2 separate regions of the Homo sapiens genome follow, and region 2 is linked to region 1. The links are contacts of gene promoters, found by promoter capture Hi-C in human tissues and cell types (Jung and others, 2019). All regions are on one chromosome and are shown on one strand. The core of a region is centred on a gene start or on the middle of the fragment in contact, and the rest is flanking DNA. Distances in the headings are between cores, read along the strand shown. Region 1 holds the start of KRT33A (keratin 33A). Region 2 holds the start of KRT16 (keratin 16).

What was found. Contacts are between HindIII fragments. The study calls those that stand out against the background at their distance.
Region 2: the fragment with the promoter of KRT16 here is called in contact with the fragment with the promoter of KRT33A in region 1 in 2 of the 25 tissues and cell types used here (mesenchymal stem cells and spleen).

Annotation. Positions count from the first base shown.
Region 1 is chr17:41,348,054-41,354,329 of GRCh38, reverse strand. It overlaps KRT33A (keratin 33A), which reads left to right and starts at 3,502. Exons shown (of 7, transcript NM_004138.4): 1 at 3,502-3,910; 2 at 4,902-4,984; 3 at 5,691-5,847. The coding sequence starts at 3,563. It overlaps LOC105371778 (a long non-coding RNA gene), which reads right to left and starts at 2,833. Exons shown (of 2, transcript XR_001753056.1): 1 at 2,727-2,833; 2 at 532-1,908. The HindIII fragment of the contact is 5,093 bases long and covers 1,665-6,276 here.
Region 2 is chr17:41,611,517-41,617,792 of GRCh38, reverse strand. KRT16 (keratin 16) reads left to right here and starts at 5,026. Exons shown (of 8, transcript NM_005557.4): 1 at 5,026-5,635; 2 at 6,072-6,154. The coding sequence starts at 5,105. RefSeq lists an enhancer at 3,447-3,995. The HindIII fragment of the contact is 12,932 bases long and covers 1-6,276 here.

The DNA of each region.
Region 1 (6,276 bases), core at 2,253-4,752:
ATGCCGATCACAACAAAGACTTTATTTCTAGAACAGGCTCAAGTGTAATGTAGTAATTATATTGGAACAGGAGCCTCCTAGGCTTTTTTTTTTTAATAACTCATTGTTCCTCTAGAAGATTTGCAAGAATTTCCTTCTGAAATTTTAAATGTAAATTTTATTTTGTTTATTGTGCAGAAGTAACATATATTTTCAAAGAATTTGGAGAGAAGAAAAAAAACATTCATAATCCTGTCATTTAATAGCATCCAGTGTCATTGTGGTGTGTTTTCTTTAATCTCTCAATTGTCCCCATTTTAATAATAGTTTAATTTTGTTGTGACTATCTTTTGTGTACCTTACTCTGGATAAGCATATTGCTGTCGAGTAGGGTCACCATTGTTTGACCAATTGTTCTAAGTTGCTCCAAACAGATGGGATATAATCTATATCTGATGGGATATAATTATGTTTAAATTACTCCAAATTGTTGGTATATAATTGTATCATCAACTTAGAAATAATTGAAATCAGAGAGTTAACAAGAAACTGTACTATTGCTGAATTCTATCTTTATTTACACATTGACTCATAATTCTTCTTCAACACAGCATATCTATGGTTAACAAGATGTTTTTCTCACTGCCCTTGATTTCTGTCCTTAGGTAATAACAGATCAGATTGTTTGTGAAATTCTTCAACATTTCAGTAGAATGGTGATTGGGCTGATAATGCAGTGGGAATCAGAAGATCTGGGTCCTAGCTAGATGATACTAAGCAAGGCATTTCTCCATTCTGAGCCTCAGTTTCCCCTTCGTAAAACGAACGGTTTGGATGAGTTGACCATTAGGATCCCCAATATCTTGTTCCAAGATTTTCCCTCTCTCTTTTAACCATTTTCATATTTAGGATCTATGTTAGGAGGTAAGAGGGAGGAAGAGAAGAGCCAAATGCAAAGCCATCTGGTTTTTGGTCTGTAGCTGTAGCTGGGAGGCTTGGAAGCTGCTTGGATTGGTAGCTGTAGCTGGGAGGCTTGGAATCTGTTGTCTGCTTTATCCTCTGCTAGCAAGGACATAGGAAGCCCCTCCTCTTTCTGGCCAATGTATGCCTCCTCAGGCCCATACTTGAATTTTTTCCTCATTGCCTCTTTAGGATATCAAATAAGGCTCATCTTACATCTTGTGACAAAACAGAAGTGGTGTCATATGCACGGTCAGTTCAGATTACTCATGCTTCTTGGATAATTGTTCCTAAATAATAAACTATTACGAATCATCAAGTTCAAACAAGTCTGGCATCTGCGTAAAGCCCACTCCAATTATTGTATAAAAGTCTGTATTGGTAAGATCAAAGCTCCAAGCTTAATAATCAGATATATAAATTTATTGCAGCAGAACTTCTCTAAGTAATGAACATCTCAATTCTGTGTGTTTGAAGTCTTGGTTTACCGAAGTTCACTGTGGGCATTACTTTAAGAATGTGCACAGGCGCTGCGTACAGCAGGCATACCTGTGTGACCCTGGAAAGGTCCTGGTAAATTTCTGGTCAAGGCAGCCAATACCCTCTCCATGGTCCTGATCATGTGCGGCCCCTTTGCTGCACTTGGCACTTCTAACATCACCTCCTCTTGGAAGCACCCTCCTTCCTGCCCTTCTGGGATGCCATGAACTTGTTTTTATCATTTTTTTCTCACCATTTCTCCATTTATCACAGATTCTTTTTCCTTCTCCTGATCTCTGATTGGGAAATTCTCCAAAGTTTGGTCCTCAGCTCCTTGTTGCTCTTCTCTTTGTACTCTCCCTTGGCCCAGTTCTCTAACTCTCTCACTTGTACTAAACCTTATCTGTATCATCATCCCTGCCATAAATTCTAGTCTTGCATGGACTGTTGCAATAGTCTCTTTGCTGAACTCTTTGCCTCCAATCTTTCCTTCATTTTTCAAAAACAGATAAATATTTGCTAAAACATTTCCTAAAACACCTTTTGTCACACCACACTTAGGTTCAAAAGCTTATACTGGCTCTACAGCTTCTGGGGAAGTCCAAGCTGCTCCACTTCACCATCGAGACCCCCTACCATAGGGTCCCCATACAATCCCCCATAAAGCTTTAATTTCTAGCACTTCCCTTCACAACTCTCCCCTTCCTGCTGCCTAGACTTACCCTGGTCCTTCAACCATGCCTTGGGCTTTCCCACCCCATTCCTGTGTGCACATTATTCTCCTCACCTGCACTTCCTACTTTTCTCCCCTCTGCTTCTTAGAAGCCTCCCTATCCCAGCACAAATCCATTCATCCATTCCTAAGAGCCTCCAATCCTGGAGCTGCTCGCCCTCCCCAGTGTGTAAACCACTCAGTTATCACTTGTCAACTTCTGCCTCAGATTATTATTTCCTGTTCATCCCTTCATCACTCTACCCACACCCATTCAACAGTGCCTACCAGGTGCCTAGAGCTGGGGATTCAAAGACAAACTAGACCCTGCCCTTGCCTTCAGGGACCTCAAATAGAGACAGAGAGACAAGCACATAAGTCATGACAGTGTCATGCTCAAGGTAAAAAGAGAGCTTGGAGAGGAGAAAGGGACGGCCTGTCTGAAGAAGGGAAGGAAGTAAGCCATTTATATTTAAGCCAAGTGTTGTGATGAAAAGAAAAGTGATCTGCTTTGGAATCCTAGGTCCACAACTTATTATCCTCACCCTCTATGCCTTGGTGTTCTCATCTATAAAATGGGAATTATACAGTTTACCTTTAAGAGTTCTGGTGAGGAATAATGGACATCTAAGTTCTGCATGTTTGAGGATCATGTTTGTAAAAAGGATCTAGTTTGTGAAAAGTGTCCACACTACCTTGGGCTTGTGCAGTTTCTTAACAAGTAAGAACTTCTTCTGACCATAGCATTGAGTCCTATTTTCCACCCCTCCCAGTGTCTATTACATCGCCCTGGATGAAATTGTCATAGTGGATATCTATTATTTGGTTGATTGACGTCATCATGGACATGAAAAAAGCCCATCATATCAGGAAACATGGCCATCAGGAACTGTCCCAGAAAGGATCTATTCCTCTTTCTGAGAACCATGAATTTGGAATTTGGCACTTGGAAATGTGACCTAGCAAAAGACACAGGGCAAGAGCTATGCTTTTCCATTTCACCAAGGAGAGCCAGAGCTTGCCAAAGAGTTAGGGGCCTCAAGCCACAAAGCAGAACAGCAATACTGTCTCTTGACCTGCTGCACCCCACTGAAGAAGGCCAGGGCTTTCATGAGTCCAGGTCTTTGAAGTCACACCATGAAGCTCTTACATCATGACACACAGCATGGAAGAGGAGTCCCGACTTAGCGAGAAGCCCAAGTAAAGTATTTTATGAGGGGAGAGACTCTTCTGAAGAAACACAACAAATGGAGGGAAGGGCTTTTGACAATCACCAAATGAGCAAAAAAAAAAAAAAAAAAAAGGGGTTGTCTTACGTGTCCACACCCTCCATGGACGAGGTATAAATGCTCCCTGGAGGAAGGAGACCCACCGCTCTACAACCTGGAGATTTTGGACTCTGTCTTCAGCTGGACACTCCCTCCCTGCACCATGTCTTACAGTTGTGGCCTGCCCAGCCTGAGCTGCCGCACCAGCTGCTCCTCCCGGCCCTGTGTGCCCCCCAGCTGCCACGGCTGCACCCTGCCCGGGGCCTGCAACATCCCCGCCAATGTGAGCAACTGCAACTGGTTCTGTGAGGGCTCCTTCAATGGCAGTGAGAAGGAGACCATGCAGTTCCTGAACGACCGCCTGGCCAGCTACCTGGAGAAGGTGCGTCAGCTGGAGCGGGACAACGCGGAGCTGGAGAACCTCATCCGGGAGCGGTCACAGCAGCAGGAGCCCTTGGTGTGTGCCAGCTACCAGTCCTACTTCAAGACCATTGAGGAGCTCCAGCAGAAGGTGAGGAGTGGGCGACACAGTGCCTCCAGTAGGAAGTTGTCGGGAGAGAATCCGAGTTGTGATTGAGAAACAACGTAAGCTCTTGATGTGAATGAAAAGCTGAAAACTGGCCTTTCCATTTTGTTTTTTGAGGGCCCATCTAATACTAGACTTGGGACTGTTAGGTCTAAATATTTGCATAGTGTTAGTCTATGTGGAGGTAGCAGCACTTTGCATAAATGAGCTGTAATTAAAAACTACCTCTGAATGCTTCCATGCACCTGCCAAGCTCCAGAATTATTACCCTGAGGTGAGAGAAAAGGACTGAGTCCAAAGGAAGCTGGGGAAACGGAATCTTTTGTAAAGACTGGGCCATTTTCTTTCTCCCTCATCTGAGCTTTTTGCCCCTTGGACTGCTGGCTGCCTCTCTCTTCTAGGTTCCTACTTATCCTGATTTCATTGTCCTCACCTTCATGCCTCTGGGCTTCTCCTGGTGCACAGTGTCCAGTGAGAGCCTAAAATGTTTGGCCCAAATTGGGAAGATTGGAAATTACCTAGGACAAAGTAGTCCCAGTTGTCTGGGACATCTGGGAACATGTGGCTTCTTCCCTGATCCAGTCCCCTGCAATTGCTAGTTTACCTATTTGTCTTTTCTGCTTGATTGAAAGTTTCTTGAGGGCAGGATCAAGTGCTTACCAATTTTTGTATCCTCAGCTCCTAGTATCATGCCAGAAACATAGTAGGTGTTTTTCATAAATGTCAACTATTATGATCAGCTTCTCAGTATTGCTCATTAGGATAGAAAAAAGATTATCTACTTATACTTTTTGCATATTTTGGTGTTCTTTTTTTGAATATAATTTTGGAAATATTCATTGAGTACCTGCTGTATATAGAAAGCATTTAATAAGATAGACATCCTGATCCTTCCAAGGAAGTGAATTAGGAAGGACTGCCATTGGTGAAAAATTACCAAGTCCTTGCTCATTCTTGAATGTTTTGGGCCTTCTAGATCCTGTGCAGCAAGTCTGAGAATGCCAGGCTTGTGGTGCAGATCGACAATGCCAAGCTGGCCTCAGATGACTTCAGGACCAAGTGAGTGGGCAAGCGGGGTGTTGCTGTTTATTTCTCTTCTCTGGCAGCCCTCCTTTCCTTTAGCCTGTTGTCAACACAAGTTAAACAAACAGTGACTGAGCTATGTTCTAGCTGCTTTCTCCAAGATTCACAGAGCCACCACACACCGTAGCTCAGAGATCCTTTCCCCAGGCCTTAGACTTCCTTTCCTCCTTCTTCTCCTCTGTGACGTGACACCCCTAGTCGTACTGTGAGTTAGTGTAGACGTGTTGGCCCCCGATGTTCTCCTATGCACAGAACCCATTCATGAGAATGGAGAATGTGGAAGCATATTATTTTGGAAGTCTTACAGTTTGTCAGCTTTTATCCTAAATCCACTGGCTTTCTTCTTTTTTTTAGAGACAGGGCCTTGCTCTGTCACCCAGGCTGGAGGGCAGTGGTGCAATCATAGCTCAGTGTAACTTCAGATCCTCAGACTCCTGGGCTCAAGCAACCCTCTCCCCTTAGCCTCCTGAATAGCTAGGAATATAGAAGTCTATCCACTGGATCTTTAAACGTAAAATTACCAGTGCATTTTCTTCCAGCTCGATGCTGAAAACCTAAACAAAAGAGATGGCTATAAAAACTACAAACCCTAATTCCTAGTTGCCTGACTAACCAAACCAAAGCAGAGTCAAGGCCAGGCCTATTCCTGCCCAGCCTGTTCCTGACCCTCCTGTGATCACAGATATGAGACCGAGCTGTCCCTGCGGCAGCTGGTGGAGTCGGACATCAATGGCCTGCGCAGGATCCTGGATGAGCTGACCCTGTGCAGGTCTGACCTGGAGGCCCAGGTGGAGTCCCTGAAGGAGGAGCTGCTGTGCCTCAAGCAGAACCATGAGCAGGTGAGTTCCCTGAAGAGTGATGGGCTCAGACTAGCCAGGACCTGTTTCACAACTGCCACAGGGTCCAGGACAGGCTGTCAGTAGAGGCTCAATTAGCTGAGGAAGTAATTCTGCATACAAAAAGGGATATGTAGAGAATGACTAATCTAAAAACCTGTGATATGAGATTAGGATTTTTCTGCCAGAGGCAGGAATGAGAGTGAGGAAGTTGGCAAGCCCAGTAGTGAGGAAAGCTGGGTAATGAGGCAGAAGCCACAGCCTCTCCTGTGCCCAGGTTAGAGTGCATGCAGCAGCAATCTTCTATTCCAATTCTCCATTTGTAGCTGGAGAAGCCAGGATGGCCTAGGCCCATCAGGCAGAGAGGGCTGAGCTAGAACAAAATGCAATTCTCTTCGTTCCTGTCCAGAGCTCTTTCTGCTTGCTGTTCAG
Region 2 (6,276 bases), core at 3,777-6,276, 260 kb before region 1:
GCACCTCGTTGTGTGGATGGGGACACTGAGGCTCCAAGGAGCAGTGACTCAGCCCTTGTCCCGGAGCCTAGGGGGTCAATAGTGGAGACAGGCACGGGAGGGGAGTGGGCCCCGCTTCCGTGCCGGGAAGAGGAGCCCAGCCCCACCTCCTGCCCCACCTCAGGTTCCAGGCAGGGCTCTCTCTCCCCTCTGTAGATCCTGGGGTCCACAATTACTGATGGGACAAGTGAGGAGGGGTCAGAGTGTGGGGAGGACCAGAGACGGCCCCAGACTGTGCCCCTCTGCTGGGGAAGAAACCCTTCTCCACAAAGTGAGTGGGTGGGGGGCTCAGGATGCCAGAATGGGGGAGCCCCCCGGTGTGCCCAGACAGCTGAGCCAGGGGATGGTGGGGAGACTTGAGCGGCTTTGTCTGTCCAGGCACCCCAAGTGGGCCCAGGCTGCTGGGGACATGTGCCTGGGGTGGACTGGGGACCCAGCTATGGGACTCATGGAGGGACTCACAGTTCATCCACACACTCCCTGCCCACTGCACAGAATGTTCCACCCTGTCATCAAGGCAGAAGCTGCAGATCTGTGGTTGCCCTTGGAGCTGCCACACCTGGTCTTGAGTGATGGACACACACATATGATTCTCAGGCCAGGTCCATGCCAGTGGTAGCCTACCTCTGGATCCCCCTTGCAGGGGCTGACCTGGTAGCATGTCCAGGGGGAGATGAGTGTCCCCCACTACATCCATCTCCCTGCAGGACATCCTGCCAGGGGAAGGAGGAGACACCGGTCCTGACCCCAAGAGATAGTGCCTGCCCCGAGGGGACCTGAGGGACTGAAAACAGTCCCTCAGCCTTTATGCAGTGTGGGTCTCTTGTGGCAACCCAGGTTTTGGGGAGATGAGGGGAACAGAGGGAACAGAGCCAGGCAGGTCTCCCCCCATGCACAGAGCTGAGGGGATAACTGAGCTGGACAGAGGCCCGTCCTCACCCTGAGCTGTAGTGACCATTTGAAGAAACATCCCTGAGAGAGGCCCACTCTTTCTCCCACAACCCCCTGGGGTCCGCAGCCTTCCCTGGAGGCACCAGCTTCCTGCTCACATTCCTGGGGTGGGGGCAATGGGAGCCCCTCTTGTGGGTTTCCTGAGACTCACACAGGAGTCCGGGCTCCTTGTTTGTGCAGAACAGGCACCCCAAGTGGGCCCAGGCTGCTGAGGACATGTGCCTGGGCTGGACTGGAGACCCAGCTATGGGACTCATGGAGGGACTCACAGTTCGTCCACACCCACCCTGCCCAATGCACAGAATGTTTCACCCCATCATCAAGGCAGAAGCTGCAGATCTGTGGTTGGATTGTGAAGGGCTATGACAGCCCCACCTTCAGAAGGGGGGCATCAAACATGCAGGAGGGGATAGGAGCCCCAGAGGTGGGCCTGGCACTCACAGATTTCCCCAGATCCCGGGAGCCGTCACAGGGGCAGAGCCTGGGCCTGGACATTTGTTCTCCCCCAGGGACCCTGCTCTCTCTGTTTCTCTGCAGGGCCCCAGTACCCCATCGTGGCCTGACATTAGTGTATTGGGATTGTCTTTACCACCTTCTCCCCCAGAAGACTGTGTCTCCAGGGCTTCTCTGTCTTGTTCTTTGAGTCTGAGTGCCCAGCACAGTGCCAGGCACATAGTAGGCACTTTATAAACACCTGCTCATAAACATAACGCTAGCCACCAGCCTTTTCCAGGTGCTTTATTTATTTGGCCTCGAATCCCCTAATATGCCTGTGAGGCAAGGCTGTTATTCCCATTTCCCAGAGAAGGAAACTGAGGCTCAGAGAGGCTGAATGTCCTGCCCAAGATTTCGCCCCTGCTTGCCCCGATTCTAGGCTGCTCTGTCCTGGCTCAGTGGGGCTCTACTTTTCCTTCCTCCTGCCCTGAAGCCTGTGGCTCTGGCTTGTCCACCCGAGGCTGGGGGCCCTGCAGCAGCCCCCTCTCTCCCCTCAGCTTCTCTGCCCCCCTCCTTAGCCCCCAAGCTGCCTCCTGCCTTCCCAGTCTGAGTTGGCTGGGGAGCTTGTAAAACAGCCCCACCAGCAGGCTTGTCCTGAGCGGTGCTGATGCGGGAGTTGGAGCAGGGCTGCAAATCTTCATGGGGACTCTGACGATCTGTCTGGTTGGAGAATCACTGCAAGTCAAGGCGTGGCATTGGCCAATGGTGTTTCCCGGCTGCCTCAGGTATGCCATGATCTCATGCCTCATGCTTGACATGGGCAGTACGAAGGAGGGAGGAAGGAGGCAGGGTGTGGGGAGGAATCCTCTGCCTGGAGGATGCCCACTGGGCTTCTCTGTGCTCACCAGGCTTAGTGGTCCTGGCTCTTGGCCACCTTGGGGCAGGTGTGCATCACTGGTGCACAGGAAACGCCTCCTCCTCCTCCTCTGTCAACTCAGATCCTCTGAGGCCCTGCTGGTGCCTCTCTCTGCTAGGACCCTTTCAGGGATCAAGGCCAGGAGGGCAGCCCCCTCCTCTACTGCTGAGGCTCAGCGGGGCAATGCCTACCCCAGCTGCCTCCTGTGGTGTGGGCATGGCAGGCAAGCCCAGCACCCCAGGGTTTCTAGCCAGGTTCTGTATTTTCCAGCATTAGTTTTCCCTCCAGGGTCAAATGATAAGTTCTTCTAAGGTCAGAGACTATGTCATCATCTCCCTCTTCACCCCCAGCCCCCGAGAGCTGTACACACAGCAGGTGCGTGATCTATGGAGTTGGCTGAGCAGTTTGGCGCGTTGGTCAGCAACTTCCTGCAGCTTCTCAGCCCATGCAGATCCCCAGGTCTGCAGTGCTGGGCTTGTGTATAATCCCGCCCTGACACCTCCTGGAATGGGGAACTTGGTGGGGGGCAGTGAGCCAATGAGAAAGGGGTGTGTGTGCATGCACACACGATGGGGGCAGAGAGTGAAGAGTTCTCAGAGACTCTACTACGAGAGTCGGTGTGAATCCTGGCTTGGGAGTTAGAGCTGGCTCGAGTCTCTGCTCTCTCACTTTTGTGCTGCTTAACCTGGATAAGGCTTTCGCTCTCTCCAGTTGGGGTATTAATAGCCTTTGGTGACCTTGAAGACCATTTTCAGTTCTGAGGGTGATGGGTCTGTGGATGGACCAGAACTCCAGGCCCAACCTGACACCTGAACACTGAGGTTTTTGTCCAAGATTCCGGGGTCCCCTTTGCCCCTTTTTGGGGTAGGGGTGAGGAGTGTCAGGTTCCCTCTCCCAGGTTTGACTCTGAAGGGATGTGCATCCGTTCTGCTCTTACCTCTGGGATGAATGACCAGGGGAGATGTAGCAGTGACAAAACCCTGGTTCTGCTGAGACAAGGAATTGCCTGCCCCAGTGGAGCTCAGGCAGAAGCAGGCTGTCTCTGGGCTCCTCACCTCAACAGAGACACTGCAGAGCAAGGCCAGTGGCCAGCACCGAGGGATGCCCCACAGCACCCTGAGGAGGCCCCGTCTTGGTGCCCAGACCCCTCCATCCTCCCTCCAGTCCTCGGTGCTGGACCAGGCTCTCAGGCCAAGGCCATGCCCACCATGGGCAGACCTCCTGCCAGTGATCGTGGGGAGGTGGGTGAGAGTTGGGTATACTGGCCCCGCCTGCAGGCATGGTGGGAGCCTGGAGAGGGCCAGAGTTCTGGGTTCTAGTTGCAGCTCTGCAGCTTAAAGCAGAGTGACTTTGAGTGAATCTCTACGCTCACAGAACTGTATGGCACACACTGGGCTCTCCATGCATGCCTGAGTGGGCCCATAACCAGTGCTCTCCCCCAGCTCAGCTGGATGAATGGAGCTGCCAGGCCTAGCCTGGGATCTGTGGACACAGGAGAGAGAACTGCTGGGAACGGATCCCCGGCTAGTCCTGTTTCTACAGGGTAGGGGGGGACTCTGAGGCCCAGGTGGGGTCAGGGGTCATACCTGGCTGTAGTGGCAGGATGGGGCTCCCTCCCACCAGCCTGCAGGTGGGGTGCCTGTGATTAGGAGAGGGCGGTAGAGGAGTGGCAGAGCTAGGTGTGGGGCTGTGGTGTTCTTCAGCTGGGAGTGTGGGGGGCGCAGGGCCCTGCTTAGGGGTGCGGGATGGTGCCAGTGTGTAGAGGTGAGTGTGAGGAGCAGGTGGCTGGAGGGGCAGGATGGGGAGGCTGAGGGGCAGGGCTGGCCCTCGGGGAAGGGCCGGTGGGGTCCTTCGCGCATGTTTCTTTGTGGCTAGTGGTGTGTCATCCCCTTTTACAGATGAGAAAACTGAGGACCAAGGGGCTATAGGACCAGCCTGTGCTGTACAGTTGGTAAGGGCAGAGCAGGGACTCAGTGCCGCCTGTCTAGCTCCATGGCCAGTGCTGTTTGTATGGTGCACACACTTCTGGAGATCCCGGGGGCTCAAGGCAGCCTCTGGAACTGGAATTAGATCCAAGAGGGGAAAGAGAGTTATAGGATTTTTAGAACAGAAGGGACTCTGCAGTCACCCAGTCCAGCCTGGTCACTGAGGGGAAACAGGCCCAGAGGTGGGAGGTGGGGAGCCTCAGGCCACACAGCAAGCAGAGTGAAGACAGGAACTCTGCCCCTGCCCAGAGTGGGACATGTGGGATCCCCACAACTGCTCCCCAAGACAGCCCAGGATGGCATCACTGAGCTCTCTTTCAGCCAAGGCTGTCACTGTGGGGCAGGGAGTTCTTCTGAAGGGCTGACTCACTGCCTGGGGACGCAGTTGCCACAAAGCCACCTGTGCCAAGGCCCGACTGGCCCCGAGGGCTCCAGGAAAGGGAGCCTGATTCCCCACCGCCTAGCCTGAGTCACCACCGAACTCGCATTTCTGTGTTTTTCTCTCGGCCCCACACCCCCAAAGCTGGGTGGGAACTCTGAGCCGGCACACAGCAGAGTTGATCCTGGGCTGAATAATCCAGAGTGAGGAGTTGGACGGGACCGGGAGTGATGAAATCCAGAGGGGAACCTGGAGTCAGCAGTTAGGAGGGCCCCGCCTTCCCCAGCTGCATATAAAGGTCTCTGGGGTTGGAGGCAGCCACAGCACGCTCTCAGCCTTCCTGAGCACCTTTCCTTCTTTCAGCCAACTGCTCACTCGCTCACCTCCCTCCTTGGCACCATGACCACCTGCAGCCGCCAGTTCACCTCCTCCAGCTCCATGAAGGGCTCCTGCGGCATCGGAGGCGGCATCGGGGGCGGCTCCAGCCGCATCTCCTCCGTCCTGGCCGGAGGGTCCTGCCGTGCCCCCAGCACCTACGGGGGCGGCCTGTCTGTCTCCTCTCGCTTCTCCTCTGGGGGAGCCTGCGGGCTGGGGGGCGGCTATGGCGGTGGCTTCAGCAGCAGCAGCAGCTTTGGTAGTGGCTTCGGGGGAGGATATGGTGGTGGCCTTGGTGCTGGCTTCGGTGGTGGCTTGGGTGCTGGCTTTGGTGGTGGTTTTGCTGGTGGTGATGGGCTTCTGGTGGGCAGTGAGAAGGTGACCATGCAGAACCTCAATGACCGCCTGGCCTCCTACCTGGACAAGGTGCGTGCTCTGGAGGAGGCCAACGCCGACCTGGAAGTGAAGATCCGTGACTGGTACCAGAGGCAGCGGCCCAGTGAGATCAAAGACTACAGTCCCTACTTCAAGACCATCGAGGACCTGAGGAACAAGGTGGGTGACTTTGGTGTATGGAGCACTGAGAGAGGCTGGGGCTACAGTGGCCCTTGGGATACCTCTTTTTAGCAATTACACTTTACAAACAGGGAGACTGGGCACCTTTGGGGAGTGGCCAGGATCACCCAGGGAAGTGGTAGCAGAGGGTCCCTTTTCAGTATCTCTGTGCCCGGACTGGGGCTGTTACCCTAAATCTCTTATTTCCTTCAAGGGTTCAGCTGCAAGTTCAGCTTCCCTGCCTTGGGCCCAGGAAGGGGGTGATCGGGATGGAGTGCATCCCTACGTAGCCTGAGCTGGTGGAGAAGGCATGCCAGCCCTGCCAGCCAGAAGACTTCCAGATTTGGGGCGGTTCCTTTTGCCCCTTTCTGCCTTTCATGCTCAAGTAGTAAGGTCCTTGGCTGACCAGGGCTCCTGTCCTCCATCCCCACTCCAGATCATTGCGGCCACCATTGAGAATGCGCAGCCCATTTTGCAGATTGACAATGCCAGGCTGGCAGCCGATGACTTCAGGACCAAGTGAGCAGCCAGCATGGTGGGCTGGGGGCAGAGGGCAAGGGACAAAGAGTGGGGCGGTCCACCCAGCAGGGCCAGCAGACCCCGAGCCTCAGAATCCTCAGGGCTGCAGCCTGAGGACCTGA